2 separate regions of the Homo sapiens genome follow, and region 1 is linked to region 2. The links are contacts of gene promoters, found by promoter capture Hi-C in blood cells and fetal thymus (Javierre and others, 2016). All regions are on one chromosome and are shown on one strand. The core of a region is centred on a gene start or on the middle of the fragment in contact, and the rest is flanking DNA. Distances in the headings are between cores, read along the strand shown.

Region 1 (3,060 bases), core at 29-2,528, 61 kb after region 2:
CCTGTGTTGCAGGCAAACATCCTGGGTCTCGCCGCCGGCCAGCGCTGTGGCGCCTCCTGACCGTCGTCTCCTCACTCCGCCTTTTCAAATTTTTGTATAACCCCGTGTTGTGTAAATACAGTTTTTGCTCCGGTGCTTCCGCCTGATTTTTGGGGCTGCGGGGGCGGGACCGGGGTGTGACCGCCTCGGGGTGGGCCGCGAGCAAGGCAGGCGACTCCACTGGGCGCCATCTTCGGGGAACGACTCAGCGCAGGATTGTAAATACACCGCTGGGGTGGGGCGGGGAGGACGGTGGCCTGCAGGACGCAAAAAGCGGAAGCCGAAGCATGAGGCCTGCGACCGTTAGGCGGGCGCGCGCTCAGGGATTAGCCCCGCCCCGTCCGTGCCCCCGGCGCGCGCGCTCCCCCATTCTCCCGCTCGGCAACGACGGCGGCCTTGTGCGCGTGCGCGCGAAATAACGGCCGCTGGCGGAGGGAGGGGGAGTGGAATCGTTGGCGGGGGGAAGAGGAGAGAAGCCGCCCTGTCTCCCGCGCGCCCACCACCTGCGCCATCGTCAGCCAATCAGCAGCCGTCTCAGGGGTCTCGCGCTCGGGGCGACTCGGGCTGCTGGGTGGCTCCCCCGTCCCTCCTCCCGCCAGAGTCCCTCTCGCGCCTGCCCCTCCCGCTGGCCACGCGCGCGCTCGCGCTAGCGCTCGCGCCCGCTCCAGCCTCTTGTGTGTCCTCGCGCCCCCCGCCCGCCCTCCCCGCGCGTAGTGTGCTCCGCTTCCCCCACCCTCCACCTCCCCCCTCCTGCCCGCCCCGCGCGCCTCCTCCCGGGTTCCCCCTCCCCCACCGCCGCCGCCTCCTCCTCCCGCCCCAGGGTGAGCGCGAGCCACCTCCCTCCCTCCCTCCGCCATGGATCCCAGCAACTGGAGCAGCTTCATCTTCCAGGTAACAACTCCCTCCCCCCGCCCCCACCCCCCTGCCCACACCCCCTCCTGCCCGCCCTCCCTCCCGTCCCACCCCCCCTCCGCGCGCCCGGTGCGCGCGCAGCTGTCCCCCTCCCTCCCTCGCGCCCTCCCCCGCCCTCCCCGAGGCGCCGGCTGGGCGCGCGCGCGGCGGGGGCCGAGGCTGCTCCCTCGCTCCCCCCACCCCGCCCCGCCAGGCTCCAACCGCCGCCGCCGCCGCCGCCGCCGCCCGGGCCCCCGCCCCCGGCCCCGGCCCCGCGGGGCCTCCCGCCCCCACCCAGGGGGCGTCGCCGCCGCCGTCGCCGCGGCGCTCCGCGGCCCGCAAGGCGCCCTCTTTTCCTCCCTCCCGCCGGCCGGGGTGCGCGGGCGGCGGGGCGGCCCGCGGGCCATGCGTTCGGCGCGGCCCAGCCCGGCCGGCCGGGGGCGGCGCCCCGAGCCCGGGCCCCGCGCGGCCCGCGCCCCCGGCCCCCGCTGAGCCCCGGGGGCCCCGCTGCGGCCGAGGCCATGTTCCCGGTGTTTCCTTGCACGCTGCTGGCCCCCCCCTTCCCCGTGCTGGGCCTGGACTCCCGGGGGGTGGGCGGCCTCATGAACTCCTTCCCGCCACCTCAGGGTCACGCCCAGAACCCCCTGCAGGTCGGGGCTGAGCTCCAGTCCCGCTTCTTTGCCTCCCAGGGCTGCGCCCAGAGTCCATTCCAGGTGAGTAGGGCCGGCCGCGGCGGCCCGGGCTGGGGGGGGACGCCCGCCCGCACCCGCGGCCCACTCGGCGCCTTGTCTCCGCAGGCCGCGCCGGCGCCCCCGCCCACGCCCCAGGCCCCGGCGGCCGAGCCCCTCCAGGTGGACTTGCTCCCGGTGCTCGCCGCCGCCCAGGAGTCCGCCGCGGCTGCTGCGGCCGCTGCCGCCGCTGCTGCCGCCGTCGCTGCCGCGCCCCCGGCCCCTGCCGCCGCCTCTACGGTGGACACAGCGGCCCTGAAGCAGCCTCCGGCGCCCCCTCCGCCACCCCCGCCAGTGTCGGCGCCCGCGGCCGAGGCCGCGCCCCCCGCCTCCGCCGCCACTATCGCCGCGGCGGCGGCCACCGCCGTCGTAGCCCCAACCTCGACGGTCGCCGTGGCCCCGGTCGCGTCTGCCTTGGAGAAGAAGACAAAGAGCAAGGGGCCCTACATCTGCGCTCTGTGCGCCAAGGAGTTCAAGAACGGCTACAATCTCCGGAGGCACGAAGCCATCCACACGGGAGCCAAGGCCGGCCGGGTCCCCTCGGGTGCTATGAAGATGCCGACCATGGTGCCCCTGAGCCTCCTGAGCGTGCCCCAGCTGAGCGGAGCCGGCGGGGGAGGGGGAGAGGCGGGTGCCGGCGGCGGCGCTGCCGCAGTGGCCGCCGGTGGCGTGGTGACCACGACCGCCTCGGGGAAGCGCATCCGGAAGAACCATGCCTGCGAGATGTGTGGCAAGGCCTTCCGCGACGTCTACCACCTGAACCGACACAAGCTGTCGCACTCGGACGAGAAGCCCTACCAGTGCCCGGTGTGCCAGCAGCGCTTCAAGCGCAAGGACCGCATGAGCTACCACGTGCGCTCACATGACGGCGCTGTGCACAAGCCCTACAACTGCTCCCACTGTGGCAAGAGCTTCTCCCGGTGTGCACGGGGCCTCGGCCGCCCGCTAGGCCGTGGGGAGGGAGGGACGCGACGGAGGTGGCCTGGCCGTGGCTGGCGGGGAGGGAGGCGGCTGCTGAGGCTGGGGAAGGGGAGCCACTCCCAGGGCGGAGGGAGGAAGCCTCTCCCGGTTACCAGGGAGCAAGGGGTGGTCCTTTGTCGAGGAGGTGGGCCTTGGGGTTGACGGAAGCTTCGCGTGGGAGGAGGCGGCGGCGGCGGCAGCGGCTGCTGGGCTCCAGGGGAGGGATTTCCTGCTTAAGTGTCGCTGTGACGGCCTGGGCTCCGGGAGGAGGCGCAGGGATCCTCGGAAAGGCCTGTGGTGCGGTTTGGTGGATTTGGGGCGCACCACCTCCGCCCTAACCCCAACCCCAACGTGTCCCCAGGCCGGATCACCTCAACAGTCACGTCAGACAAGTGCACTCAACAGAACGGCCCTTCAAATGTGAGGTAGGAAGCCCGCCTCC
Region 2 (2,875 bases), core at 22-2,521:
CCTCCTGGGCGCCACACCAGGGTGGGTGCACGGTGGCTGGGGTCTGGGCGGAGAGCACGGCGGAACAGGCGTTCAGCCAACACAGCGGTGGTGAGGATGAAGAGCGCAGCCAGGGTGGCCAGGACCAGCATGATGGGGATGCAGGGCCCACAGGGCAGTGAGGGCCATGGGGCTGCTTCCCATGCGGGGGGCCCCTCCACGCGCCCAGAGGGCGGCTCTGGAGTCAACGGCATCTGAGAGACACAGGGGTGAGAAGAGGAAGTAAATGAGGCAGAGGGGGCACAACCAAGATGAGAGAGAGGCAGCAGGTGTCCAGGAAAGCCTGGGAGAAGGGCTGGGCATGGGGGCTCATGCCTGGAATCCCAGCACTTTGAGAGGTCGAGGCGGGAGGATCACTTGAGCCCAGGAGTTCAAGACCAGCCTGGACACACAGTGAAACCTCATCTCTAAAAATAATTTAAAAACTAGCTGGGTGTGGTGGCTCACACCTGTAGTCCCAGCTACACAGGAAGCTGAGGTGGGAGGATTACTTGAGCCCAGGAGTTTGAAGCTGCAGTGACCCCAGATTGCACCACTGTCCTCCAGCCTGGGCAATAGAGCAAGACCCTTTCTCAAAAATGAAAAAGAACATTCTGGAGAGACAGAGAAGCAAGAGGGACCAGAAAGGGTAAGCGTGAGCCAGGTGGGGTGGGAGGACAGGCAGCCTACCTCGGGGCACAGCCAGGCCCTCCTGCCTGGCTCTCCAGGCCTTTCCAGAATCCCCATTTCCCTCCCAGACCCCAGGGTGCCTCAGACAAGAAAGGTCTCAAGGGCTTCTTTCCTCCCCACTCGGCCCCCTCAAGTCTTGCTCAGACCTAGAGAGGAAGTGGTGGGTGAAGAAATGAGAACCTCCCCTCCCACTGGCTCCCCTGCGTGTGTCTCCCCCACCGCCTGCCGCCAGCACCTCCGCTGGCCCCTTGAGGCTCCTTCGCCCCTCACCATTCTCCTCGGACTTGATCTTGCTCTCATAGGCTCCACGGAATCTGCTGCCGGGCCGGGCCGGGCCAGGCCTCCGGAGGCGCCTCTGCACCCCTCCTGGGCTCCCCAGCTTTGCCCAGGCTCTGGCCTGTCTCTATCTCTCGTTTGTCTCTGCACACCTCTCTGTCCCCCACATCCTCCATCTGCAGGGGGCCTCCTGCACCCCTCAACTCACCTTGGGTCAGTCCCTGGGCTCCTCTCCCTCCTAGAGCCACTCTTCCTGGTGCTGGACTAAGAGGTGCAGGCTTGGAGGGTGCAGGGCGGTCCGCCTCTCAGACGTAGAGGCCCGGCCTCGGATGAAGGCGGAAGGGAGGGCACCGCCTGTTGCTGGGCAACTGTGCCCCAACTCGTCTGCCCCTGGGGAGTGTTTGTTTCCAAAGCAACCCAAGGGGATGTGGTCACTGCGGTGAGGAGGCTTTTCCTGGGGTAAGGTGGGGCTGGAATGGGCAATGGTTCTGTTGAACTTAGTGTCACCCCATAGCCAGGCCCTGAGCCCCAGAACATTCACCGAAAAGCTGAGAAAGAGGACGCCGGGGCCAGGCACAGTGGCTCACCCCTGTAATCCCAGCATTTTGGGAGGTCAAGGTGGGCAAGTCACCTGAGGTCAGGAGTTCGAGACCAGCCTGCCAACATGGCGAAACCCCATCTCTACTGAAAAATACAAAAATTAGCTGGGCATGGTGACGGGCACTTGTAATCTCAGCTGCTCAGGCGGCTGAGGCAGGGAGAATCGCTTGAACCCGGGACTCGGAGGTTGCAGTGAGCTGAGATCGTGCCACCACACTCCAGCCTGGGCAACAGAGTGAGACTCCGTCTTAAAAAAAAAGAAAAGAAAAGAAAAGAAAAAGAAATAGGACACTGGGACTTTAGCCCGTACATTCCCAGAGAACCATGGTGCCTCCCCCGTTCCTCCTGGGAGGATGCCCCACCCCATCCTGCCTTGTCTTATCCACGGTGCCTCCCCAGATCTGCTCCTGCCATGCAGCCCCCACAGGCACCCCCTGCTTGGCCAGCTTGCTTCACACCTTTTTTTTTTTTTTCTGGTAGAGATGGGCTCTTGCTATGTTGCCCAGGCTGGTCTCAAGCTCCTGGCCTCAAGAGATCCTCCTGCCTCAGCCTCCCAAAGTGCTGGGATTACAGGTGTGAGCTACCACACTGGCCCCTGCCTCATACTTTTAATTAACATAAGTCTCTCTCTCTTCAGACCATTTAGCCCCCATTTTGGTTGGAAAATATCAGTGAGGTGAGGCTTGGGTAACAAAAATGTCAAGCCTCTGAGAGGAGTCCAGGGTATAAAAACAGGCGTGGGCCTGTTTCCAAAACCCTGACCATCCTCATGTCTGTCCCTCTTTCCTGCTGCTGAGGGTGGGAGGAGCCTGGAGCAGAGTGTGACAAGATGTCATCAGGCTCTGGAGTCCAGGTGACTTTCTGAGATTCTCTAGTTTGACTCATCCACAGATGACAAAAGTAAGGCTTAAAGAAAAGAGATTTCATGACCAAAGTCGCATGACCAATGTATGTGTGGGTGAGCATGTAGTGGCCAGGGTGGTGGAAGAATAGATAGAAATCCCTGGGCTGGGCGAGGTGGCTCATGCCTGTAATCCCAGCACTTTGGGAGACCGAGGCGGGTGGATCACCTGAGGTCAGGAGTTTGGGAGCAGCCTGGCCAACATGGCAAAACCCCGTCTCTACTAAAAATACAAAAATTAGCCGGGCGTGGTGCCGCACGCCTATGACCCCAACTACTCAGGAGGCTGAGGCAGGAGAATCGCTTGAACCCGGTGCAGTGAGCCGAGATCGTGCCATTCCACTCCAGCCTGGGCAACAGAGCGAGACTCTGTCTCAAAATAAATAAATT

Evidence for each region. Contacts are between HindIII fragments. The CHiCAGO score rates a contact against its expected background, and 5 or more counts as called.
Region 1: a contact is called between the fragment with the promoter of MAZ here and the fragment with the promoter of C16orf54 in region 2, in 4 of 17 cell types (naive CD4 T cells, M0 macrophages, M2 macrophages and 1 more). The highest score is 6.1, in naive CD4 T cells.

Annotation. Positions count from the first base shown.
Region 1 is chr16:29,805,251-29,808,310 of GRCh38, forward strand. It overlaps MAZ (MYC associated zinc finger protein), which reads left to right and starts at 1,279. Exons shown (of 5, transcript NM_002383.4): 1 at 1,279-1,643; 2 at 1,728-2,578; 3 at 2,980-3,043. The coding sequence starts at 1,452. KIF22 (kinesin family member 22) reads left to right here. Exons shown (of 14, transcript NM_007317.3): 14 at 13-134. The coding sequence ends at 60. RefSeq lists enhancers at 210-259, 2,830-3,060 and silencers at 570-909, 1,040-1,179, 2,080-2,749. The HindIII fragment of the contact is 3,714 bases long and covers 1-2,784 here.
Region 2 is chr16:29,744,719-29,747,593 of GRCh38, forward strand. It overlaps C16orf54 (chromosome 16 open reading frame 54), which reads right to left and starts at 1,272. Exons shown (of 2, transcript NM_175900.4): 1 at 1,193-1,272; 2 at 1-233. The coding sequence starts at 233. It overlaps LOC124903673 (a long non-coding RNA gene), which reads left to right and starts at 529. Exons shown (of 2, transcript XR_007065046.1): 1 at 529-667. RefSeq lists enhancers at 1,562-1,611, 2,139-2,208. The HindIII fragment of the contact is 10,190 bases long and covers 1-2,875 here.